Regions from separate parts of the Homo sapiens genome. Here all the other regions are linked to region 2. Evidence: promoter capture Hi-C in 16 types of primary human blood cells and fetal thymus (Javierre and others, 2016). All regions are on one chromosome and are shown on one strand. The core of a region is centred on a gene start or on the middle of the fragment in contact, and the rest is flanking DNA. Distances in the headings are between cores, read along the strand shown.

Evidence for each region. Contacts are between HindIII fragments. The CHiCAGO score rates a contact against its expected background, and 5 or more counts as called.
Region 1: a fragment that was not itself captured here is called in contact with the fragment with the promoter of ANKS4B in region 2 in 1 of 17 cell types (erythroblasts); the score reaches 5.9 in erythroblasts.
Region 3: a fragment that was not itself captured here is called in contact with the fragment with the promoter of ANKS4B in region 2 in 1 of 17 cell types (total B cells); the score reaches 5.2 in total B cells.
Region 4: a contact is called between a fragment that was not itself captured here and the fragment with the promoter of ANKS4B in region 2, in 4 of 17 cell types (fetal thymus, monocytes, endothelial precursors and 1 more). The highest score is 10.7, in fetal thymus.
Region 5: a fragment that was not itself captured here is called in contact with the fragment with the promoter of ANKS4B in region 2 in 7 of 17 cell types (total CD4 T cells, naive B cells, total CD8 T cells and 4 more); the score reaches 14.2 in total CD4 T cells.
Region 6: a contact is called between a fragment that was not itself captured here and the fragment with the promoter of ANKS4B in region 2, in 1 of 17 cell types (erythroblasts). The highest score is 5.8, in erythroblasts.

Annotation. Positions count from the first base shown.
Region 1 is chr16:22,392,578-22,397,089 of GRCh38, reverse strand. It overlaps the pseudogene SLC68A2P. Among named protein-coding and RNA genes, the nearest start is that of CDR2-DT, 20 kb to the right of the region's middle. The HindIII fragment of the contact is 7,194 bases long and covers 1-4,512 here.
Region 2 is chr16:21,230,689-21,235,364 of GRCh38, reverse strand. It overlaps ANKS4B (ankyrin repeat and sterile alpha motif domain containing 4B), which reads right to left and starts at 1,666. Exons shown (of 2, transcript NM_145865.3): 1 at 1,464-1,666. The coding sequence starts at 1,627. LOC105371123 (a long non-coding RNA gene) reads left to right here and starts at 1,763. Exons shown (of 2, transcript XR_001752344.2): 1 at 1,763-1,873. The HindIII fragment of the contact is 3,732 bases long and covers 1-2,958 here.
Region 3 is chr16:22,413,618-22,418,319 of GRCh38, reverse strand. No RefSeq gene overlaps it. Among named protein-coding and RNA genes, the nearest start is that of CDR2-DT, 41 kb to the right of the region's middle. The HindIII fragment of the contact is 7,565 bases long and covers 1-4,702 here.
Region 4 is chr16:22,644,950-22,649,266 of GRCh38, reverse strand. No RefSeq gene overlaps it. Among named protein-coding and RNA genes, the nearest start is that of LINC02890, 34 kb to the right of the region's middle. The HindIII fragment of the contact is 4,039 bases long and covers 830-4,317 here.
Region 5 is chr16:22,692,225-22,696,526 of GRCh38, reverse strand. No RefSeq gene overlaps it. Among named protein-coding and RNA genes, the nearest start is that of LINC02890, 81 kb to the right of the region's middle. The HindIII fragment of the contact is 1,092 bases long and covers 1,301-2,392 here.
Region 6 is chr16:22,351,224-22,355,590 of GRCh38, reverse strand. All of the region lies in intron 2 of CDR2 (cerebellar degeneration related protein 2), which reads left to right. Among named protein-coding and RNA genes, the nearest start is that of CDR2, 21 kb to the left of the region's middle. The HindIII fragment of the contact is 554 bases long and covers 1,963-2,516 here.

The sequences.
Region 1 (4,512 bases), core at 192-2,691, 1.2 Mb before region 2:
CTTAGGTAGGCACTATTTTTTTGTTGTTTTTTAAGACAGGGTCTTGCTCTGTCACCCAGGCTGGAGTGCAGTGGCACAATCACGGCTCCCTGCAGCTTTGACCTCCTGGGCTCAAGCGATTTTCCCACCTCAGCCTCCCAAGTAGCTGGGACTCCAGGTGTGTGCCACTATGTCTGGCTATTTTTTTAAATTTTTTATAGAGACAGGGTCTCGCTATGTTGCCCAGGGTGGTCTTAAACTCCTGGGCTCAAGTGACCCTCCCACCTTAGCCTCCCAAAGTACTGGGAGCCATTGTGCCCAGACCAGTAGGTACTATTTTGATCCTCATTTTACAGATGAGGAAACTAAGGCACAGAGAGGTTGAGTAACTTACCTAGGATTGCACAGCTAGTAAGTGGAGAGCCAGGCTCCTCCTGGGCAGACTGCAGATCCATGCTCTTAACCCAGTTACTCCTCTGCCTCTCTGGGGAGTGTAATATGGAAGAGTGACAGACCTATACCAACAGTTATTAGGGAGACAGAGTATTTATTCATCCTTTTCTCCTTTATTTATTCAACTCCTCAAAAAGAAAACCAGCCTGAGGGCTGGGTGCGGTGGCTCACGCCTGTAATCCCAGCACTTTGGAAGGCCGAGGCAGGTGGATCACTTGAGGTCAGTAGTTGGGAGACGAGCCTGGCCAACATGGTGAAACCCCATTTCTACTAAAAATACAAAAATTAGCCAGGCATGGTGGCACATGCCCGTAATCCCAGCTACTTGGGAGGTTGAGGCAGGAGAATTGCTTGAATCTGGGAGGCGGAGATTGCAGTGAGCTGAGACCATGCCATCACACTCCAGCCTGGGTGGCAGAGCGAGACTGTCTCAAGAAAAAGAGAGAGAGAGAGAGAGAGAGAGACTGTCTCAAGAAAAAGAGAGAGAGAGAAAGAAAAGAAAGAAAGAAAAGGAAAGAAAAGGTAAGAAAGAAAGAAAAGGAAAGAAAGAAAGAAGAAAGAAAGAAAGAAAGAAGAAAGAAAGAAAGAAAGAGGAAGGGAGAAAGGGAGGGAGGGAGGACGGAGAGAGAAAGAGAAAATGAAAACATAGTGCTCACCCTTCATTATTTTATCCAATAAAGTGTTAAAGAGACTTAGCCAAATGAATAACAAGAACAACAGATTCCAATGAGCTGTCATTATTTTTTTTTTTTGTCTGAGGCAGAGTCTGTCACCCAGGCTGGAGTGCAGTGGCACCGTCTCGGCTAACTGCAACCTCCACCTCCCAGGTTCAAGTAATTCTCTGCCTCAGCCTCCCAACTAGCTGGGATTACTGACACCCACCACCACGCCCGGCTAATTTTTTGTATTTTTAGTAGAGACAGTGTTTCACCATCTTGGCAGGCTGGTCTTGAACTCCTGACCTCATGATCCACCCACCTCAGCCTCCCAAAGTGCTGGGATTACAGGCGTGAGCCACCACGCCTGGCCAAGCTGTCATTTTTTACCACAATAATTTACACGTGTTAATTCTCTAGAAATTAAGAATAAATTTCAAGCAACTTTGGATTTTCTTTTATTTTTTGTAGAGACAGGGTTTCGCTGTGTTGCCCAGGCTGGTCCCAAACTCCTGGCTTCAAGCAATCCTCCTGCCTCAGCCTCCCAAAGTGCTGGAATTACAGGTGTTAGCCATTGGGCCAGACCTGGATTTCCATTTTATAATAATTTTTTATTGAGATCAATAGAAAGTCCTATGTTTTTGTGAGGGCTTAAGAAAAATGACTGTTAAAATCTTTTGGCTATACTTCTCTTAACAACTAGTAACCAAGAGAGACTAAGAGAAAGTATTTACTGATCATATATCTGACAAAAGACATGTGCCTAGAATATACAAATAACTCCTACAACTCAATAATATGAAGACTAATTACTCAATTTAAAAAGACACAAATTATTTTAATAAATAACCAAAAAGATACATGGATGGCAAGTAAGCATATGAAAAGATGCTCAACATCATTAGTAGTCATTAGGAAAATGTAAATCAAAAACACAGTAAGATACTACATACCGGCCAGGCGTGGTGGCTCACGCCTGTAATCCCAGCACTTTGGGAGGCCGAGGCAGGCGGATCACGAGGTCAGGAGATCGAGACCATCCTGGCTAACATGGTGAAACCCCATCTCTAATAAAAATACAAAAAATTAGCCAGGCGTGGTGGCGGGAGCCTGTAGTCTCAGCTACTCGAGAGGCTGAGGCAGGAGAATGGCATGAACCCAGGAGGCGGAGCTTGCAGTGAGCCGAGATTGCGCCATTGCACTCCAGCCTGGGCGACAGAATGAGACTCTGTCTCAAACAAAAAAAGGAAAAAAAAAGTAAAGAGAAAGGTAAACATCTACCTTCCATACAACCCAGCCATTCTACTCCTAGGTATTTACTCAAGAGCAAGGAAAGCATATATCCATACAAAGACACAAAATGCTCATAGCTTTATTTGTAACAGCCAAAAACCAGATCCAACCCAAATGTCCATCAAGAGATGAAAGAAGGAAGTCCTGGCCAGAGCAATCAAGCAAAAGAAAGAAAGAAATTACATCCAAATAGGAAGAGAAGAAGTCAAACTATCTGTCTTTGGTGACAATATGATTCTATACATAGAAAACCCTAAAGACTCCACCAAAGGACTCCTGGAACTGATAAATGACTTCAGTAAAGTTTCAGGATACAAAATCAATGTACAAAAATCTGTGGCATTTCTTTACATGAATAATGTTCAAGCTGAGAACCAAATCAAGAATGCGATCCTATTTACAGTAGCCACAGAAAAAATTAACATACCTAGGAATTCATCTCACCAAGGAGGTGAAAGATCTCTACAAGGAGAACTATAAAACACTGCTGAAAAAAATCATATATGACACAAATGGAAAAACATTCCATGCTCATGGATTGGAAGAATCAATATTGTTACAATGTCCATACTGCCCACAGCAATCTACAGATTCAATGCTATTCCTATCAAACTACCAACATCATTTTTCACAGAGTTAGAATAAACTATTTGCAATTTCATATGGAACCAAAAAGAGCCCAAATAGCAAAGCAAGCCTAAGCAAAGAGAACAAAGCCAGTGACATTACCTGACTTCAAATCGTACTATAAGGCTACAGTAACCAAAACAGCATGGTACTGGTACAAAAACAGCCACATAGACCAATGGAACAGAACAGAGAACTGAGAAATAAAGCTGTACTCTTGCAGCCATCTGATCTTCAATAAAATCAACAAAAATAAGCAATGGGGAAAGGATTCCTTATTCAATAAATGGTGCTGGGATAGCTGGCTAGCCATATGCAGAAGACTGAAACTGCACCTTTCACCACATATAAAAATTAACTCAAGATGGATTAAAGATTTGAATGTAAGACTTCAAACTATAAGAATCCTAAAAGAAAACCTAGGAAACACCATTCTGGACATCAACCTTGGGAAATAATTTATTGCTAAATCCTTAGAAGCAATTGCAACAAAAACAAAAATTGACAAGTGGGACCTAATTAAACCAAAGAGCTTATGCACAGCAAAAGAAATTATCAACAGAGTAGGCAGACAACCTATAGAATGGGAGAAAATACTTGCAAACTATGCACCTGACAAAGGTCTAATATCCAGAATCTATAAGGAACCTAAGCAATTGACCAAGCAATAAACAAACAACTGCATTAAAAAGTGGGCAAAAGACATGAACAGATACATCTCAAAAAAAGACATAAGCAGCCAATCATGAAAAAATGCTCAACATCACTAATCATCAGAGAACTGCAAATCAAAACCACAATGAGATACCATCTCACACTAATCAGAATGGCTATTGCTAAAAGTAAAAAAAAAAAAACCAACAGACAGATAGACTGCAGAGAAAAGGGAACACTTATACGCTGTTGATGGCAATGTAAATTAGTTCAACCACTGTGGAAAGCAGTTTGGAGATTTCTCAAACTACCTAACACAGAACTACCACTTGACCCAGCAATCCCATTACTGGGTTTATATCCAAAAGGAAATAAATTGCTCTACCAAAAAGACACATACACTCTCCTGTTCATTGTAGCACTATTTACAATAGTGAAGACATGGAATCAGCCTAGGTGCCCACCAACGGTGGACTGGGTAAACAAAATGTGGCACATATACACCATGGACTATCACATAGCCATAAAAAGAATGAAATCATGTCCTTTGCAGCAACATGGATGCAGCTGGAGGCCATTATCCAAAGCAAATTAACACAGGAACAGACAAGCTAATACCACATGTTCTCTCTTATAAGTGGGAGATAAGCATTGGGTACTCATGGCAAAAAGATGGCAACAATAGACACTGGGGAATACTAGAAAGGCAGGGGGCAAGGGTTAAAAAACTAACTATTGGGTGCTATGTTCACTACCTGAGTGACAGGATCAATCATACCCCAAACCTCAACATCACACAATGCGCCCACATAACAAACCTGCACATATATTCCCTGAATCTAAAATAAAA
Region 2 (4,676 bases), core at 417-2,916:
GAACCACATCCAGCCATACTCAGCTTCTCTAGTTCTCAGAACTAGAGCAGTTTTCCATCTTAGGGAAAACACTCTTTCGTCTAGCCAACTTGTTCTCATTTTCCTAATCCCAGCTTAAATGCTTTCCCCTTAGGGAAGCCTTCCCTCACCCCTGAGATTGAGGTAGATGCCTATTTAGTGCCCTCTATTTCCCTTTTTGTAACAAATATCATAGATGAGCCAGGCACAGTGGCTCACAGCTGTAATCCCAGCACTTTGGGAGACCGAGGCTGTCAGATCGCTTGAGCTCATAAGTTGAAGACCATCCTGGGCAACATGGCAAAACCCCATCACTACAAAAAGTACAAAAATTGCTGGGCATGGTGGTGCACACCTCTTGTCCCAGCTACTCGGGAGGCTCAGATGGGAGGACCACTTGAGCCTGGGGCTCAAGGCTGCAGTCAGCTATGATCTTGACACTGCACTCCAGCCTGAGTGACAGAGTGAGACCCTGTCTCAGAGCAAACATGCACACACACACACACACAAATATCATAGATGTCTTGTCTTCCCCTCTCAAATCTGCTCACTATGACAGGGACTGTGGCTGTCTTGTTGATCACAGTGTGCCCAGTGGCTAGCAAAATATCTCTTATCTTAAGAGATAAGTGGCTGGCACATAACAAATACTGAATAAATGGGTATTCAATTGGATTCACTTGGCTCCTTTATTTACCTTGTCCTTTTCTCTTTCTTTACCCCTCTTGGGTTACGGTTGCCAACACAACCTAGCCCTCTGATAACAGGCAGAACAAGCAGAGGAACTAGCTTACTCCTCCATTAAAATCTGGGCAAAGAGATGGGGTGTGTGTGTGTGTGTGTGTGTGTGTGTGTGTGTGTGTATCTATCCACTAGCCAAAGAAGTGATAGAGTTAAGATAGGCTAAAGAGTCCTTGTAGAGCCAGCAACTCCATTCAAAAGAGCAAGACCCTGTGTCAAAAATAAAAAATAAAAAAATCATGAGCTTGCACTGGGATTGAAAGTTAATAAAAGACTGTGAGATTTTGATGGCATAGATAAAAAAAAAACTAAAACCATGTCATTTGTTCCAACCAAGGTTGGCAACTTAAAACCAAGTAAAACAATGGCCTCTTTGAAAAGAGAAAACTATTTAAATTTCATGAAAAGCATTTTTAAAGGCATAGAATTAAAATATCTTCCCTCTTCCCCATGCAGATAATGCCGTAGTTCAGGGTCTCTCCTCTGATTGTGGCTAAGGGATGAGCCACTCCTATAGTGCCAGTCCTCAGTGAGAAAAGAGAGCATCTCTAGGCATAGTTTTCTCTCTTTCTCTAAAAATCCAATCATTTAGACAATCTAGAAAGAGGATAAAGTATTTGTATTGACGTCCCTGCCTCTTGCTGCTGTCTGCAAAAACCTACCATGAACACTGTTTCCAACAGAAACCATCGGGTTGAACTTACCCTCTACTGCAGATTATCTCTAGGGCTTCCAAGTTCCCATGGTAGGCTGCCAAGAGAGTAGGAGTCATGCCGTCTTCATCCGAAAGATTTAGATCTCGCTTGGTAGCCTCTTTTAGAAGTTCCAGGTAACTATCACTAGCAGCTTGGTGGTAACGAGTAGACATTTTTCCTGCTCACCAGAACTTGGCCAGATGTCTCTCCAGGCAGAGCAAGGTGTTGGCGGAGCAACCTTCCTATAGAGCTGGTTAATTAGTGACAAGGAAGAGTGTCACCAGGGGCAAAGCTCATTTCAACTGCTTCCTTTCACGGAAGGCAACAAGGTTCGAGGCACTGAACTTGGACCTTTTCTCTCTGGAATGGCCATGACGTTGACTATTGAAGACTGCTGTATTCATCTTGAGTGTTTGGAGGTACATTCAATTTTTCTATGTCCATTAGTTTCTTGAGTGTAATATTGGCCATCTAGGCACAGGATGTAAGAAATAATTTCTTAATAAAATGCAGAGCTACTCTAGTTCACTAGCTGTTTTTTCCAAAAAGAACAGCTTTATTGAGGTATAACATCATTAAATTTACCCATTTCATGCATACAATTCAATGATTTTTAGGACATTTATAGAGTTGCATGCCCATTATCATAATCCAGTTTCCATCAGCCCTTAAAGATCCCTCATGCCATTTGCTGTCAATCCCATTTCCACTCCCAACCTCAGGAAACCACAGTCTGCTTTCTGTCTCTATAGATTTGTTTTTTACGGGCATTTCAGACAAATGGAATCCTACAATATATAGTCTTTAGTGTATAGCTTGTTTCAATTCACATACTTTTTTGAGGTTTGTCATGTGTAGCATGTAATGGTTTCTTTCTTTTCACTGCTGAATAATATTCCACTGTGCTAACATACCACATGTTCTTCATCCATTCAATGTTTCATGAATATGATGAATATTTGGGTTGTTTCCATTTTTCAGTAATGATGAATAATGCTGCTATGAGCACTGATGTACAAGTCTCTGTGTGGACACATATTTTCATGTGTCTTGCGTATATATCAAGGAGTGAAACTGCTGGGTTGCATGGCAATTTACATTTAAATTTCAGAAGTTGCCAGACTGTTTTCCAAAGTGGCTGTACTACTTCACATTTCCACCAATAACGTATGAGGGTTTCAATTTCTCCACAACCTTGCCAGCCTTATTATTGCCTATCTTTTTGTTTATGGTCATCCTAGTGGATATGAAGTGGTCTTATTATGGCTTTAATTTTCAATTTCCTAATGACTAAGATATTGAGCATCTTTTCATGTGCCCATTAGCCATTCTTACATCTTCTATTCAAATCTTTTTGCCCAATTTTTAAGTGGTTGTCTTATTAATAAATTATAAGAATTATTTATATACTCTGGATACAAGTCCTATATCAGACATATTTGGAACAGAATGAAAATGAAAATACCACATATCAAGATTTATAGGATGCAGTTAAAGAAAAGCTTAGGGCAAAATTTGTAGTTTTTTATGCATATATGAGAAAGAAAAAAGATCTCAAATCAATAACTTAAACATATTATCAATAACTCAAGGGAAGGAGAAAAAGTATAGAAAAATGACTATAAGGAGTACAATATAAGACCAAAAAATTTCCAGATCTGTAATAAAAACAAAAGAAAATGGACTAAATTTATGATGTGGAAGACTCAGCCATGTCTTGTTTATAATAGACATATCTAAAATATAAAATTGCAGAAAGATTGAAAGCAAAAAATGGAAAAGTTATAGCAAGCAAATACTAACAAAACATTGGTGTACCCACATAGATGGTCTGCAACTTATGAGAGTTTGACCTAATTTTTCAACTTTATGATGGCACAAAAATGACAGGTATTTAGTATGCTTCTCAGCTCACAACTGAGTTATTATATCAACTTATGGTGGTTTTGCATTGTAAGTTGAAGAGCACCCGTATTGGTAGCAAGGAAAAATATAGCTTAAGCCAAAAAAATTTACTAGGCATAAAGAGAGATAATACATGATAATGAAAGGAACAATTAATCAAGAAACTATGATCGTTTTAAACTTGTATAAATTAAATAACACAGCTGCAAAAAAGGGAAAGCAAAAATTAAACAGAAAAAAAAAAACAAAACCACAATCATAAGGGAAGATTTCAGACATCATCATAATGTTCTATATCAGACTAAAGATTGGTATAGCTATAAAATATTTGGGCCGGGCACAGTGGCTCACACCTGTAATCCTAGCACTTTGAGAGGCTGAGGGGGTGCAGATCACGAGGTCAAGAGATTGAGACCATCCTGGCCAATATGGTGAAACCACGTCTCTACTAAAAATACAAAAATTAGCTGGGCATGGTGGCATGTGCCTGTAGTCCCAGCTACTCGGGAGGCTGAGGCAGGAGAGTCGCCTAAACCCGGGAGGCGGAGGTTGCAGTGAGCTGAGATCGCACCATTGCACTCCAGCCTGGTGACAGAGTGAGACTCCATCTCAAAAAAAAAAAAAAAGAAGAAAAACAGATTTGAACACAATTAACAAGCTTGATCTAACAGTCACATGGAGAAAGGACCCTGTGCCCAATAGTAAATGCATGTTTTTTCTAAGCACACAGAATATTTATAAAACCTGACCACTGAATAGAAGCAGTGCAGTTCTCGACAAATAACAAATAACAGGGTTCATGCAAACCGTGTTCTCTGAAGACACTGCAACTAAATTAGAAACCGCCATCCTTACATAACTCATCAACTATGCATATGTTCTCCTGTGGTGTATTTTTTACATTGTTTTCATCAAATACATATAATTTTACATTACATCTTTTCCACTCCTTAATCCATCATAAATATATCCCCATATTGTTACACAATCTTTAATATATTTAGATAATTGTCCACTAAACTGATGTGAGAAATATCTATTTTTGAAGCCTGTAACTGTATATTCCTCTTATCTCTTTTTGTCTAAGTTTTTATTCCAAGATAAATTATTTACCCACTCAGAAAAAGTACAAAGCTTTCATCTACAGTTTCTTCACAATAATAATGAGCTCCAAAGGTCACTGTTTGTTCCTTTTTCTGGCTTCTAGGTGAAGAGCAGTAGAAGCAGCCTGGAGGGCAGCATTATTTAGCTTTTTTTAAACATTGTTTTTAGCCCAGAGAGAGTGACATATCCAAACATGATTATGAATACTGTGAG
Region 3 (4,702 bases), core at 1,951-4,450, 1.2 Mb before region 2:
AGAGTCTCGCTCTATTGCCCAGGCTGGAGTGCAGTGGCGTGATCTTGGCTCACTGTGACTTCTGCCTCCCGGGTTCCAATGATTCTCTTGCCTCAGCCTGCTGAGTAGCTGGGATTATAGGCACGCACCACCTCGCCCGGCTAATTTTTGTATTTTTAGTAGAGACAGGGTTCCACCATGTTGGCCAGGGTGGTCTCAAACTCCTGACCTCAGGTGATCTGCCTGCCTCAGCCTCCCAAAGTTCTGGGATTACAGACATGAGTCACAGAGCCCAGCCTAATGACTGATTGATTGATTGTGACACAGGCTCTCACTCTGTTGCCCAGGCTGGAGTACAGTAGTGAGATCATAGCTCACAACAGCCTCGAATTCCTGGGCTCAAGTGATACTCCTACCTCAGCCTCCCAAGTAGCTGGGACTATGGGCATGTGCCACCACTCCCGGCTAATTTTTTTTTTTTTTTTTGAGACAGAGTCTGGCTCTGTCACCCAGGCTGGAGTGCAGTGGCGCAATCTTGGCTCACTGCAAGCTCTGCCTCCCGGGTTCACGCCATTCTCCTGACTCAGCCTCCCGAGTAGCTGGGACTACAGGCACCTGCCGCCATGCCTGGCTAATTTTTTTTGTATTTTTAGTAGAGATGGGGTTTCACTGTGTTAACCAGGATGGTCTCGATCTCCTGACCTTGTGATCTGCCTGCCTCGGCCTCCCAAAGTGCTGGGATTGCAGGCATGAGCCACTGCACCCGGCCAGTCCCAGGTAATTAAAAAAAATTTTTTTTGTAGGAATGGGGTCTTGCTATGTTACCCAGACTGGTCTCAAACTCCTGGCCTCAAGTGATCCTCCTGCTCTGGCCTTCCAAAGTGCTGGAAGATGAGAGCTACAGATGAGAGCCACCACACTTGACCATCACCAGGGTTTTCTACTACAATATTGCTTGAGGCTTTTACTGCTACTTGGATTTCAAGCAATGTCCCCAGTTCAGGTGGAAAACAGTCACCTCGAAAATGGAGAAGATGAGTCTGAGGAAGAATTACATTCTACAGAAGAAATGCGGTCCAGGACAGTCCACATTCACTTCCTTCATTCAGATACTCATTTCTTAGCCACAATTACCCAATTTTGAGCCATGCTTCTATAATGAGATACCACTGAGTTCTGCGGTTCTAACTCCTTAATCTCTCATGTCAGTCTCCTCTTGCCTTCTGTCTTCCACTGCTTTAGGGCTTGGATTACATGCGTGAGCCACCACACTGGCCCCATGCACAATATTAACCAGTGGAACCAGCATTCCTCATATAAAATCACTTTGTTAGCCTTCTAACTGTTCTTTGCAATCCAGCTAACATCCCTTCAAAACACACTTCAGGGTAATCTTTTATTTTATTTATTTATTTTATTTATTTATTTATTTTTTTTTTTTGAGACGGAGTCTTGCTCTGTCACCCAGGCTGGAGTGCAGTGGCACAATCTCAGCTCACTGCAAGCTCTGCCTCCCGGGTTCACGCCATTCTCCTGCCTCAGCCTCCCGAGCTGCTGGGACTACAGGCGCCCACCACCATGCCCGGCTAACTTTTTGTATTTTTAGTAGAAGCGGGGTTTCACCATGTTAGCCAGGATGGTCTCGATCTCCTGACCTCGTGATCCGCCCACCTCAGCCTCCCAGAGTGCTGGGATTACAGGCGTGAGCCACCGCGCCCGGCCTAATGTTTTATTTTTACTTATTTATTTTTTGAGACAGGGTCTGGCTCTGTCGTCCAGGCTGGAGTGCAGTGGCGCAATCTTGGCTCACTACAACCTCCACCTCCCGAGTTCAAGCAATTATTCTGCCTCAGCCTCCCAAGTGGCTGGGACTTCAGGTGCATGCCACCATGCCCGGCTAGTGTTTGCATTTTTTGTGGAGATGGGTTTTTACCATGTTGCCCAGGCTAGTCTCGAACTCCTGAGATCAAGAGATCTACCCACCTCGGCCTCCCAACGTGCTGAGATTACAGGCGTGAGCCATCACGCCCAGCCCAGGGTTATCTTTTAAAAGGCAAATCTGATATTATTACTTCTTGGTTTAATAATTATAATGCTCCTTTCCTTTTAGGATCAGGTCTACACTTCTCAAGCTCTACTACTAAACCATCAGCCATTCCTCCAATCATGTCCTACAACCTCATGCCTCTCTGTGCTTGCACAGACTCCCTGCTACTATGAATTTTCAAAATTCATTAGAGAGATCATTTATTTTCTCCTCAGTCTGAATTGTATGCTAAGCCAGTGGGCACTCCCTCAACAGCCCACACTTACATCTGTAATAGCACCTAGCATCCAACATTAAGATTCTCACTATAATTGACTGTGAGCTTATTCAGAGTGGGGGCTGCATCTTTTCCTCTTTTTCCTTTGGGTTTAGCACAGGACCTGGTACGTAGTAGGTGTTAATATTTGTTGAATGAATGCTGTATCATTTTACACATCTATGCGTTGCACATATGTCTATACTGTTTCTCTTCACTGGATACATCCAATCTCCATGCACAGTATTATTATTATAATTATTATTGAGACAGGATCCTGCTCTGTCACACAGGCTGGAGTGCAGTGGCACAATCATAGCTCACTACAGCCTCCAACTCCCAGGCCCAAACAATCCTCCCACCTCAGCCTAGCAAGTAGCTAGGATTACAGCTGTGCACCACCATACTCGGCAAATTTTTCAATTTTTTGTAGAGAGGGGATCTTGCTATGTTCCCCAGGCTGGTCTCAAACTCCTGGCCTCAAGGGATCCTCCTGCCTCAGCTTCCCAAAGCACTGGGATTACAGGCATCAGCAATGGCACCTGGCCCCATGCACAGTATTTATGCCTCCACTGAAACCTGGCTGAAGCATTTTTTTTTCTGTGAAGCCTTCCTGGACTTGGTTCCCAAGACAGTGATGATCATGCCCACCTTTTAGCCACCATTATATCTTATATATACTTCTAATCATAGTATCTACTATTTCGTGCTGCAAAAATCTCTCCTCATGTCTGTCTCCTTTACTAGATTGTAAACAGCTAGTTGCAGCAACCTATTTTATTTATCTTCATATTCTGAGCACTTATGATATAGTAGGCAACTAGTAGTTAAGCCTTCATTTTTCCATTTAGTAATTAAGCCTTCAGTGCTTCTTTTACACTATAAACAGATTGTTCTAAAACAAAATTCAGATCATGTTTTTCTTTCTTTCTTTTTTTTTTTTTTTTTTTTGAGACAGAGTCTTGCTTTGTTGCCCAGGCTGGAGTACAGTGGCACCATCTCAGCTCACTGCAACCTCTGCCTCTCTGGTTCAATCGATTCTTGTGCCTCAGCCTCCCGAGTACCTGGGACTACAGGCGCATGCCACCACGCCCAGCTAATTTTTGTATTTTTAGTAGAGATGGAGTTTTGCCATGTTGGCTAGGCTGGTCTTGAACTCCTGGCCTCAAGCAATCCACCTGCCTCGGCCTCTCAAAGTGCTGGGTTACAGGTGTGAGCCACTATGCCTGGCTCAGATGATGTTTGTCTCATGCATTCAAATCTTCAGTGATTTCCCTTTACCTAGAGTGGTCTTTCCCAAAGTACAGCATCTGGACCCCTGCTGGCACACATGATAATTTTTACATGATACATAATAGTTCTTTTTATTTTTATTTTTTATTTTTTGAGATGGAATTTCACTCTTGTAGCCCAGGCTGGAGTGCAGTGGCACAATCTTGGCTCACTGCAACCTCCACCTCCTGGGTTCAAGCGATTCTCATACCTAAGCCTCCCGAGTAGCTGGGACTACAGGCGCCCACCACCACACCTGGCTAACTTTTGTATTTTTAGTAGAGATGGGGGTTCACCATGTTGGTTAGGCTGGTCTCGAACTCCTGACCTCAGGTGATCATGCCTTGGCCTCCCAAAGTGCTAGAATTGCAGGAGTGAGCCACCAGCCATTTCTTTTTATTTTACTGGCGTTAGAAAAATTGAAACCTACCAAATGAATGATTTTATGGTTGCTTTTTCTTATGGCAGTTAAGATTTGTTTTAAGTTAGTGATTTAAAATAAATTTAAAGAAAAATACTGAGTAAATATTAGTACATAGAGTACTCATATAACAAATGTCAAAAATTCATCATATTTGTGAAACCCTAATGTATAGGATTAAAAGCACATACATCTTCTAAATCCAGTGTACAGATCCTTCACATCATCAGCCCTGATTGACTTTTCGACTTCACCCCCTCTAGCTGCCATCAATTGTGCTGTAACTCATGTCACTAATCAACAGGTTCTTCCATGTGACTTCTCCTAACTCCTTTCAGTCTATTCGTTACACAGCACCCCAAGGGAGGCTGGCACCCCAAGGGAGGCTGTTAAAAAGTAAGTCAAGGCTGGGCGTGGTGGCTCACACCTTAATCTCAGCATTTTGGGAGGCCAAGGCAGGCGGATCACCTGAGGTCAGGAGTTCGAGACCATCCTCGCCAACATGGTGAAACCTCGTCTCTACTAAAATACAAAAATTAGCTGGATGTGGTGGCACACACCTGTAATCCTAGCTACTCAGGAAGCTGAAGCAGGAGAATCACTTGAACCCAGGAGGCAGAGGTTGCAGTGAGCCGAGACTGCACCACTGTACTCCAGCCTGGGTGAACAGAATGAGACTCTGTCTCAAAAAAAAAAAAAAAAAAAAAAAAAAGGTAAGTCAAATCAG
Region 4 (4,317 bases), core at 1,600-4,099, 1.4 Mb before region 2:
TCCATAAGAACTGGACTTTCTAAATGCTGGGTCCAGGTAATATTTGAACTGGTCTCACCATTGTTCCTGGATAGCTCTCTGATTTCCTACTATGAGGCAACCTCTAGAGGATTCTTGGCTCAATAATGCACCAAGCTCATGGGACGAGTTCACAGTGTGTACCTGTTATATTGGTCACAACAAGAATTTGAGTCTCTACAAACCTCATGGCTTACACCACTGTATATTGGCTGGACGCACTTAAATGAGGTCCAGGCCGGAACATGTACAGAAACCCAAGTTATAAATTACAAGTTACTCTGGATAATTTTGGAAAGGGGGTCCTTGAATTCACAGGTCTGCCAGAAAGCCTATGCAGGCCGGATCTCCAAAGGCTCATTTGAAAACACAGTACCTTCCTAAACAGACTTTTATCATAAGGCTTTTTGCCTTTTCTTAAACTATATACCACAGGACTATTCAATAGCGTTGTAAGGGAAAGAAGAAAGTAAATAGAACTGTGCATTAGAAGGCTTTGTAAACTCTTTAGCAGGGGGTAATAGAAGTGCTCGATGTGAAGCTTCTGTTCTGATCAGGTGGAAAGGCAAGACATTGAAATACTAAGAGTTTAAATAAACTTTGAACATACCATCAGAATATTCCAAATAGGATCATTTAGCCATAATACATAGACATCCCCAACTACAACAACAATAATAGGAAGCACTAATATTTACCGAGTACTTGTGTGCCAGCACTAAATGAAACACTTTTTGTTAATTACTTCATTATTCTTCCTCATATAACAACCCAATGAAGTCAGTACCAAAGCTTAGAAGAAACTAAAGCTTATAGAGCTTCTATAAGGCAGGATAAGCTACATGACGCTGAAGTAACAAAAACCTCAACATCTCAATGGCTTAACACAACAAAAGTTTACTTCTTGCTCATGTTGCACAAACAATGCAGGCTGGCAGAGAAGACGCCACCCATCTTGGGCTAATGGGGCTTTTGTCTGAATTGTGTTTCCATGACCACTGCAGCAGGAGGAAGAAAACATGAGAAATTGCACTCTAGTCCATATGGGCGCTTCCAAATGGAACTGACAGATATTGCTTCTTCTTGCATTTCATTGACCAAACGAGTCCCATGCCCACATTTGACTTCAAGGTGAAGAGAGGGGAGGAGTATGATCCAATTCGTGCCCAGAAGTAACAGAATTGGAAATATTTAATTAACAGCATTGAACACAACCGCAGGGCACAAGCTGGTCTGTCCTCTTCTAGAAACAGAGATGTCACAATAACCTTGGAAAATTCAGTTTATCTTTGTGCCATTGCTCCAAGTGAAAACTTTAAAGTTGAAAATCTCTTTGTTTCAATTGCCCACATCATAACAGAAATTCTCTCTCTTTTCCCTCCGGACCCCCATTTCTGTCTGTAACACCTTCCTATAGGAATTATCATCTTTTCACTTTATTATAATAGAATTTGTGGTCTCCTGGGCATAAAACTCTTTAAAGGGACACATTTGAGTCAGGGGGGTTGTGAGGTTTTTTATTTTTTCCTCCAAAGAAAGTTTAAAAACCTTCATTTTGTATTCAGGAATAAATGAGAAGTGGTGTTATTTATAATTGGCTCCCTCTAATTCAGACTAAATATAGATTAATCCTAATTGATAAGACATAAAATTTAATTAAACCTTAATAAAGAACCTGGGAAAGAGTTCTCAATAGATGATATCAATGGTAATGTTGGATGCTGCATGCTGCAGTACTTCAGATAAAACACAATTCGTAGAAGTATTTTCAGGGCTTTGTGCAAGTCAAGATATGGGTCATTATCTCAAACAGAGCATTCATTAAAATTATGGATAAATCTGAGAGATGGTGTTCTCCATACAGCTCACCGATAAGAGCCTGGCCCACAAGAACTCCCAACAATCTCCTCAGCCTGTTGGTCAGGAGGACGCTCAGTTCCTTGACCTTGAAGCCACACTGAGTCACAGAAGTTGCTGTCACAGACTACGGTGTTATCAGATAAACCCCAACCCACCGAATATCCCATTGTAGAAATCCAATTAACAATGCTACATAAACATTACCCTTCTGATTGATGTTCCCAGCACGTAACATTTTTATTTCATGTACTCATGGTATGTTTATGTGTTCAGGAGTGATTGAGAACTTATCTTTCATGGTCAATCAACCTGGTGTCTAATTACTGCAAACATGAATAGAGAGCCCAGGCAGAGGGGAAGATCCAGCTCCCAGGAACGGAACTCCTTCCTTGCAAATGGGAGCATAGACACTCCAGTTCCTAGCAAAGTGTATCAAAGGAAGCAAACCCTGATACCTCCAGGTGTCAGAATTCTAAGAGGAAAGTGAGCTCAGTTGGCACCACAGCAAACTGGAGAGGGTCTGCCTGATCTAAAGAGGGCAACTTTTCTCTACTCTGCCCACAGTTGCCATGAAGGAATGAGGGTCCAATGATGGCAAATCATTTCACTCTTCTTTAAAATTTGTGTATTTGGATTGTAATCGGAAACAAAACCACGTTTTTAAATGGGAAGAAAAGACTTTTTTCAACAAAGTTTTTTTAAAAAACTTATTCCAACAAAGTTTTTTTAAAAAACTTATTCCTTCCCTTTGGTTATTCCTTCCCTTTGGTTCATTTTCCCCTTTAACAAATACTTAATGAATGCTTAATATGTCCCAGGCATTGTTGTAGGCACTGGAGATAGAACAATGAAGAAAACAAAGATCCCTGTCTTTAGGAAGCCTATATTCTAGAAGAGGGAGATTGACCATAAGCAATAAACATGATAAGTAAAGCATATGGTATGTTAAATGGGAGAGGTGCTAAGAAAAGACAGAAAAAGCACAGTGGGCAGGGAACTGGAAATCATGCAGGGGTTGCCTACTGATATTTAGACACAGTGGTCATACAGAAGGTGACGTTGGAAAACAGATTTGTAGAAGAAGAGGAAATTAGCCAGGCAAATATCTAGGAAAAGAGCATTGGAAGAAGGAATGGCCAGTGCAAAGTCCCCAAAGTAGAAATGTACCCAGTGTGTTCAAGAAACAGTAAATAAACTAGGTGGCTGAAATGAACTGAATGAGGGAGAGACTGGCAGGAGGTGAGAAGAGAGAGGCATCAGGGAGGGAGCAGAGCACGTGGGGCTTCCTAGGTCATTGGAATGACTTTGGTTTTTACTCTGGGGTAGTTGCAGAACCATTGGAGTGTTTTGAGTGCAGAAGAGACACAGACAGACTTGTATTTTTACCGGGATCCCTCTGGCTACTATGTTGAAAGAAGCCTGTAGGGATCAAGGATGGAGAGGCAGGGAGACCAGCTAGGAGGCTGTAGCAGCATCTAGGAGAGAGACAACAGTGGCTCAGACAAGAGTGAGGCGTTAAGAAGGCAATGGAGGTGTTAAGAAGTAGCTAGATTCTGGAATATCCAGAATCTATAAGGGACTTAAACAAATTAACAAGCAAAAAACAAACAACTCCGTTAAAAAATAGCCAAAGGTCATGGACAGACACTTCTCAAAAGAAGACATGTATGTGGACAACAAGCATATGAAAATAATGCTTAATATCACTGATCAGAGAAATGCAAATCAGAACCACGATGAGATACCATCTCACACCTGTCAGAACGGCTACTATTAAAAAGTCAAAAACAACAGATGCTGGTGAGGTTGCAGAGAAAAGGTAATGTGTATACAATGCTGGTGTGAATGTAAATTAGTTCAACCACTGTGGAAAGTAGTTTGGAGATTTCTCAAAGAACTTGAAACAGAGCTACAATTAGACCCAGCAATCCCATTACTGGGTATATACCCAAAAGAATATAAATCATTGTACCATAAAGACACAGTGCATGCAGCCAGGTGTGGTGGCTCATGCCTGTAATCCTGACACTTTGGGAGACCAAGGCAGGTGGATTGCTTGAGCCTAGGAGTTTGAGACCAGCCTGGGCAAGATGGCAAAACCCTGTATCTACAAAAAAAAAAAAAAAAAAAAAGCACAAAAATTGGCCAGGCATGGTAGCACACCCCTGTAGTCCCAGCTACTCAGAAGACTGAGGTGGGGGGATCACCTGAGCCCAGGAGGTCAAGGCTGCAGTGAACCCTGATTGCACCACTGCACTCCAGCCTGGGCAACAGAGTGAGACCCTGTCTCAAAAAATATATAAAGATATATGCATGCATATGTTCATCACAGCACTATTCACAATAGCAAAGACATTGAATCAACCAAAATGCCTATCAATGGGGGACTGGATAAAGAAAATATGGTACATACACACCATGGAATAATATGCAGCCATA
Region 5 (4,302 bases), core at 597-3,096, 1.5 Mb before region 2:
TGCCTATTAAGGCCCACATGCATACATATTTGATATTACTACTTTTATGAAATTAGAATCACCTTATTAGTTAAGCCTGATGAAGAAAGCACAAAAACAGAAAGCCACAGACAAATTCATTTATGAATACAGATACACATTTGTAAATAAATATTAGAAAATTAAGCTCATCAGTTCATCAAAAGAATAATACACTTATATTAGGAGCACAAGAATGGCTTAACATCATAGCTGGGCATCATGGTGGGCACCTGTAATTCCAGCTACTTGGGAGGCTGATGCAGGAGAATCTATCACTGTGATCCATTATATCTACCACTTAAAGTAGAAATTTCAGATGCTGTATGGTTGTAAGATAAACCTATAAAAATGAAGAGCTTTTCTATCAGTAATTATCACATAGTACTTTTTATTTTATTTATTTATTTTTTTGATACAGGATCTCGCTCTGTTGCCCAGGCTGTAGTGCAGTGGTGCAGTCACAGCTCACTGCATCCTCCATATCCTGGGCTCAAGCGATCCTCCCACCTCAGCCTCCTAAGTAGCTGGGACTTTGATACAGGATCTCGCTCTGTTGCCCAGGCTGTAGTGCAGTGGTGCAGTCACAGCTCACTGCATCCTCCATATCCTGGGCTCAAGCGATCCTCCCACCTCAGCCTCCTAAGTAGCTGGGACTACAGGCGTGCCACCGCATCCAGCTAATTTTTGCATTTTTCTTCGTAGAGACAAGGTTTCTCCATATTGCCCAGGCTGGTCTCAAACTCCTGGCTCCAGTAATCCTCCAGCGTCAGCCTCCCAAAGTGCTGGTATTATAGGAGTGAGCCACTGCGCCCAGCCCCACATAGTACTTTTAATAATTAAATAAACTTAGCAAAGTCAGTGTGGGCAATATGAGAAGGTCATGGAATGCTAGTCCAAGAAATCTGGTATTTATGAAATATATAGCAGGAAAAATTCAAGATGCCAAATAACATAAATAGGTCTATGTCTTTGGAGATGGATAGCAGTGAGGATTCTGAAGACAGAGAGACCCTTAGGAAATTATTGCAATAGTCCAGTCAAATGGTAGAGGAAAATTGAGCTGAGACAGAGGTCTTTCCAGAGGAATAATCGCTGGTACTGCTTTGGAGAAATAAACAGAATTTGTTAACTAAAGTCCAGACTGGGTAGACTGTTTTTACTACTAGGCTAAGGAACACGGGTGAAGAGAGTATTTCGGGAAAGATGACATTGAGTTGAGTCAAGCTGATTTTGAAGCACTCCCAGAACACCCACTGGTTAGAAAGGCAGATCAGAAGCTTCAAATAAAAGCAGGGACTAAAAAATTAACAGAGAGATTATTTAAGAAGCAACGATTCTGGAGCTACGAGAGGACATGAGGTCACCCAGGGAGAATGTGTAGCCTGCAAGGAAGGCTGAGACAGAACCTCAGAACATGCTGACATTTAAGGGATGGAATGAAAACAGCCGGTCAGTAAGAAGTTCTAGTGGTTGTTGGAGAGCCAAGAGCATGCAGAGCCCCATAAACTAGTGAAGAGATCCAAAAAGGATCACAAACCCAGCAGTTTGGAATGCCAAAGCAGGATCAAGGCGGAGGAGGAGCATTCAGCAAAGCAGCCTGCAGGTCCTTAGGAGAAACAAGTTCAGTGAAATGGGCATCTTGCAGCCCATTAAGCAGAGATAGAAAGTAGGTGGACTAAAGAATCCAAACGGCTTTTCAGTAAAAGTGGGTAAGAGCTTCAATTTGGGGATCAGGTTAACATGGATTCACATCTCAGCTCTACTGTTGGACATTTGTCAATCATTCCATATCTCTGAGCCTAACTTTCCTTATATGTAAAATAGGATAGTCCCAGTACTATCTTCGTAGGAGTTATTGTGACAATGGAGATAATCCATTAAAGGGGCTTAGATTGGCATCTAACATAGTTAAGAGGTCAGTAAACTTGGGGGTATTTGCGGGGCACAGTGGCTCATGCCTGTAATCCCAGCACTTTGGGAGGCCAAGGCTGGTGGATCACTTAAGGTCGGGAGTTCAAGACCAGCCTGGGCAACATGGTGAAACCCCATCTCTACTAAAAATACAAAAATTAGCCAGGCATGGTGGCGCAAATCTGTAATCCCAGCTACTCAGGAGGCTGAGCCAGGAGAATCGTTTGAACCCAGGAGGCAGAGGTTGCAGTGAGCCAAGATCGTGCCACTGCACTTCAGCCTGGGAGACAGAGTAAGAGTCCGTCTCATAAAAACAAAATGAAACAAAACAAAACTTGGGGGTATTATTGTTATTTCAATAAAATAGATGATGATCCCATCTGCTGAGAAAGGGATGAAAGCAGGTGGAAAGGGAGGAACAGCTGCTTACGTGTGTTTAAATAGACTACTTCCCAAAGCTTTTTTTTTTTTTAAATAAAAAATGACCAGACAGCTGAGATGAACTTGAAATAGACCTGGCCATCCAACCCAGCCAGACCACTCTTCCCAGAATCACTCACTGACTGAGCACTGGAGTGGTGGGAGCGGAAGAAATAAATTGTTGGGAGAATTGTTGGCTTGAAGAATGGCAAGGGTTAAAATGATCTGGTGTGGGAAAAGGACAGGATTTGAGCACAATAGGGAGAGCTCACTTAGACTTGGAGGCCGGGGCAGAGTTGTAGGAGTCATACCAGGGAAAGATCAAGCTAATTTATAGGAAGGAAAAAATCTAGAAATGAGGAACTTGAGTCGGAGGGGGTGATTCAGAGAACTGAGCATATAACCAGTCATGCTTCTTCCATTTTTTCGTATGGTCACTCTCTTACCTAGATACCTATGATACATTCAATAATCATTACTTTGGCCAGACACGGTGGCTCACACCTGTAATCCCAACTCTTAGGGAGCCCAAGGCAGGAGGATTCCTTGAGCCCAGGAGTTCAAGATCAGCCTGGGCAACATGGTGAGACCCTCTCTTTACAAAAATTTTAAAAATTACCCAAGCATGGTGGCATTCACGTGTGGTCCCAGCTACTCAGGAGGCCACTTAAGTCCAGAAGGTCCAGGCTGCAGTGAGTCATGTTCATGGCACTGCACCCCAGCCTGGGTGACAGAGAGAGAACCTATCTCAAAAAAAAAAAATCATCATCATCATTTCTTAAAACAACATTAATCATAGGTCACCTTTTTAGAGGCAAGCAGGCATTCTGTTAAACACAGTCCCCATATCAATTCTATGGGTCAAGAAGCCCTTGATGCCCATTACAGGTAAGTAAACTTTCACAGAGTGACAGGACTAAGATTTGAACCTGGGCAATCTGAATCCCAAGGCTGAGTAACCACAGCACATAACTATAAGCAGGGCATTTCGGTACGCAGCTTCTTGGATGACCTCAATACTCCCTGCCTCCTGGTAGCCCCACTCTTGTGTAATTCCCTCCCCGCTTGTGTGTGGGCTTTATTTAGTGGCCGACTTCTAGCAAGCAGAATGCAGAAGAGGAGAGATGTCACTTCTGGAATTAGATTACAAAGAGATGGCATCTTCCGTCTGGAGCACTCTCTCACTCTCACTCCAAGGGAAGCCAGCTGCCATGTTGTGAGCTGTCCAAGGATCCCAGTGACAAAGAACTGAGGAAGTCCTCTGGCCAGCAGTCAGCAAGAAACCGAGACCCTAGACCCTTAGCTCCAACAGCCTACAAATAACTGAAACCTTCCAAAAACCATGGGAGGGAGCCTAGAAGCAGATTCTCCCCAGCTGAGACTTCACATGAGACCACAGCTCCAGCATGTACTCTGACTGCAACCTGGTAAGAGACTTTGAGGTCTGACTGCAACCTGGTAAGCAACCTCAAGCCAGAGATACACAGGAAAGCCATGCCCAAATTCCTAACCCACAGAAACTGAGACAATAAATGTTTGCTGTTTCAAGCTGCTAAGTTGTGGAGTGATTGGTTATGCTGCAATAGTTAGTGAGTGCATCTACTCTGTGCCTAACACTTCCTAGATGTTAGGAATAAGACTTGGTCCCTGACGTCTGAGCATTTATAGGGGAAACAATGATATAAACAAATGATTCCAGCACAACATGGCCCAGGGTGGAGAATTGCACTAGTGGGCAACTGTAATGGAGGGAAACCAGAAAATATTCACAGAGGAGGTGAAATTTGGTTTGCATCTTGAAGGATGAATCAAAGCTAGCTAGACGGATGAAGGGGAATGGATAGTCAAAGCAAAGAGAACAGATACATGCCAAAGTACAGAAGATGAAACAGCAATTAAATATTTGTGGTTGAGTGTAGCTGACAGTAGAGACAACCAAGTAATGGAAAA
Region 6 (4,367 bases), core at 990-3,489, 1.1 Mb before region 2:
TGGTTTGTTGGGCCTAGGGCAGGGACTCAGTCCAAACCAGTGGTCTCCTATAAATTTTAACAGATCTATTAGTACTTGAAAGAAATGTCAAATTTCATTTAGAAGTTAACAAAAATGAAGATGTAGCTGTTCAGACCCTTTAAATTCATCCATGTTCACAGACCCTCTAAAGTCTATCCATGGACCCCAGGCTAAGAACTGCTGGCTTAGGTGGAGCAGCCAGGAGAACTGCATCCCCCCGGATAGGGGATCGTAAAGGCATTAGAGGAGGGAGGCACTTGCCTTGCAGTGGGGCAACTCCAAAAAAGGCAAAGATATCTCCCCTAAGTGTGAAATTTTAAAAAAATCAATAGCTAACAAATGAAGCTGGAAAAACCACTTGAGACAATTGGGAAAATATTAATGCTGAAACGTAATAGATGTTAAGGAATTATTGAGTTTTTTTCCCTTAGGAATTGTGGTTAAAATAAAACGTCCTAGAAATGTATGAAGATGTATACTTGAGATGCCTTGGATTAGCTTTAAAATGATTGGAGGACGAGGAAAGTAGGAGAGTAGAGATGAAATAAGATTGGCTGTATGTTGATAATTGTTGAAACTGGTTGATGGGTACGTGGGAGTTCATTAAACCATTTCTCTGCATGTATATATGTTTGAGATTATCCACAATAGAAAGTTTTATTTATTTATTTATTTTTAGACATAGTCTCACTCTGTCGCCCAGGCTGGAGTGCAATGGTGTGATCTTATCTCACTGCAACCTTTGCCTCCTGGGTTCAAGTGATTCTCATGCCTCAGCCTCCCAAGTAGCTGGGACTACAGGCGTGTGCCACCATGCCTAACTAATTTTTTTTTTTTTTTTTTAAGTAGAGATGGAGTTTCACCATGTTGGCCAGGCTGGTCTCGAACTCCTGTCCTCAAGTGATCCACCCGCCTTGGCCTCCCAAAGTGCTGGGATTACAGGCATGAGCCACCACACCTGGTCCACAATAGAAAGTTTTAAAATGCAGTGGATAAGATTAGCCATCTGTAGAAATTCAGTATTTGTTTGGACTGAGAAGTTAGGAAGGATCACTCAAGCAAGGTTAAGGTAACTAGTTTGTAATTTCAGGGAATTAATGATTGTTAAGAACATACCAAAGTGAAGCGTTATGATGATGAATGCTGCTGTGGTACAGTTAAAATATAACCTAATCTTAGTGGATAACTGCATCTAAGCTGAGCCCTATGCAGGGAGACGGTGAGCATTAAGCTGAAGAGTCATCATTGATCCAGTGAATGCCTGTGTCTCCTAGACCCAAGAGAAAAGGACATTGGTCAGGGCAGGGGACGTCCAGGATTTTCCATGTCCAAGATCAACATTTCTCTAAGTGTGATCTCTGGACTGCCTGTACTAATATCACCTGGGTTTGTTGCTAAAAATGCAGAATCCTGGCTCTACTCCAGTCTCAGCCGTTTGAGGGGAAGGGACCCAGGTTCTTACACTTTAATAAATCTTCTTCCAGGTGAATCTTAGCACATGTAAAGTTTGAAAACTGTAGCTTTAAATAAAGATGACAGTAGCTTCTCCTTATTGAGCAATTTACCATCTGCCAGATCTCATGCTGAGCTCTCTACATATATTAACGTTTTTGTAAATTATATATTTGTATATGTCAGGGAGGAAAAATATTTTTTTCCTCAACCTTCATGAGTGCTTAGTTGGAAAGGACCCCTGCAACAAAAGACAGATTAACAAGAGAAAAACAAGCTTACTAACATATCTATTTCATTTATATGTGTGGGAGATACCCAGGGGATGAGTCATTCTCAGAGGTGGCTTTGAATTCCAGCTTATGTAGTATCTTCAACAAAGAATGGTAATTTTTTAGAGAAGTGACAAGACAAAGGGGAAGAACTTTGTCTAGGGGCAGAACTTGTGGGAAGGCAAGTAAGTGGTGATAAAGGCCCGTTAGCAAAGCTTGTTAGTGTGGATTCCTCTGGTGCTGTCTTCTGGCCCATAAAGGTCTAAAGTTGTTAGTGGTTAACCTTTGTTCTCCCTGGTAGAGAGGGAGGAGGCAGGAACCTTTTTATGCCAAAGACGCATGCTTTGGGGTGACATAGTCCAGTCTCTCCCACACACATATTTATCTTTACAGCCTTATGAAGTAGTTGATGAGGAGAACTCACATTAGAAAAATGTGCTTGCTGTAGGTTACCCAGTTCTAAACAGCAAAGCAAGACCTCAAACCAGGTTCTGACTCCAAAGCCTGTGCTCTTAGCTACTATACCACTGCCTCCCATCAGACTCCTCTGATCCCATGTCTACCAGAGACTCTCATTCATGAATCGGCCTTTCACATGCCCTTTGTGGGGCAGCTGTGTCCTAATAGAGGATGTGAATATTCTTGTCACTGGGCAGGAACAGTTCCTGTTGTATATTAATAAATTAATGTCTGGCTTATGCATTAGCCTTTTTAAAGGTAGTTCTGAGTCCTAAAGAATACTTGATAATTTATACTTGATATAAAGAAGCTTGAAACATTTCTGCAGCTATTATATATATATTCTTGTGATTCTAAGCCTTTTTTCCGCTCCTGTGGAATCTCATCAATTCCTAAGAGATTGAACATGTTCCCATCAATGACAAGAACCTACTATGGAATTACTAGCCCGAGGGCAGGATTAAGGGCCTACTCCTTTAGTTCTGAGAAAGCTTCACGCATGAGAATTAGTGGTTGATTTCCAAAGGACCAGAAGAAGCTGGTGGGAGTTGAGGCAGTGAAGACTACACACAGGCTTTTATAGACCGTGCCATGTGCTCACCTTTCTCATTTAATTCTGCCAGTTCTACATGGTAGGTACTAACAGATCCACTTACTAATTCCGAACTCAAAAAGCTCTATAAAGCAAGATTTTTTTTTTCCCCTTAAATTTGCAACAGATTCATTTGGTAGTAGATCTTTACCTGAACTGATGTGAGGCTGTTTATAGTCTTAGTTCATACTTTTTGATGCAGAAATATTAATGCTTGATTACAGGGTGCTGCCCAGACCTCACAGGTATTATAAGGTGTCAGCTGTGTGTCAGGTATGAGCGCCATGTTGTCTTTCTAAAATTTAAAGAATTTTCCAAAACACTTTTGACTTCAAGAGTTTCAGATGAGAAAGTTGAAGTTAGGTTAAGTGTTTGTTCAACTCTTTGCTGCTGAGTTATGTAAATGGATTTGAAAAAAAAAAAGCCATATATGCTTTTTTCAACACTTTAAGGGCCCGTTGAGTGTCATTTAGCCCATTGTTTGTTAGCCTTGCAAATCCTTCTAGAGTTGTAGAAAAAGCCTCAAGAAGAGTGTGTTGTGTTGTGTTTGAGACAGTCTCTGTCACCCAGGCTGTAGTGCAGTGGCACGATCTCGGTTCACTGCAACGTTCACCTCCCACGTTCAAAAGATTCTCATGCCTCAGCCTCCTGAGTACGTGGGATTACAGGCGCGTGCCACCACGCCGGACTAATTTTTGTATTTTTATTAGAGGTGGGTTTTTGTCATGTTGGCCAGGCTGGTCTTGAACTCCTGGCCTGCCTTAAGCAATCTGCCTGTTTTGGCCTCCCAAAGTGTTGGGATTACAGGTGTGAGCCACCATGCCTGGCCAAGAAGAGTGTTTTTAAAGTCAAGTTCTGAGTCTTTTACAGTTTGATCATCAGTAAGCTTCAAACCATTTCTCCCCTCTTTCTGGTTCTGTCCAGGGAAATACTGTGACTTTTTCCTTTGGAATATATACTGTGTTTTAGTGTCTTCAGGTAGAGCTGAGCAGGGAGGGAATCAAGGTGACTTACACTGCGGCATTAAGGTTGGGATTATTCCCCTTTATCCTTGGCCATTTAGGAAGCAGTCTTAGCAGGACCAGAATAAATCATCTGATAAATTTCTCGTGAATAAGGAGGATAATGGTGATAAAACTCTCATAAAATTAAAAATAACAGGAGTCTTTGAAGCATATTAAGCTAAAATATATTTCTCGTCAAAGCAACATACTTTTCATTTTTTTTGGTCCAGAATGCCTCATTCAGAGAAAGAGATTGATTTTTTTTTCCAAATTAAGATCCTCCACATAGAAATAGGAACGTTTTACACTGTTGGTGGGAGTGTAAATTAGTTCAACCATTGTGGAAGACAGGGTGTCAATTCCTCAAGGATCTAGAACTAGAATTACCATTTGACCCAGCAGTCCCATTACTGGGTATGTACCCAAAGTATCATAAATCATGCTGCTATAAAGACGCATGCACACGTATGTTTATTGCGGCACTATTCACAATAGCAAAGACTTGGAACCAACCCAAATGTCCATCAGTTGATAGACTGGATTAAGAAAATGTGGCACATGTACACC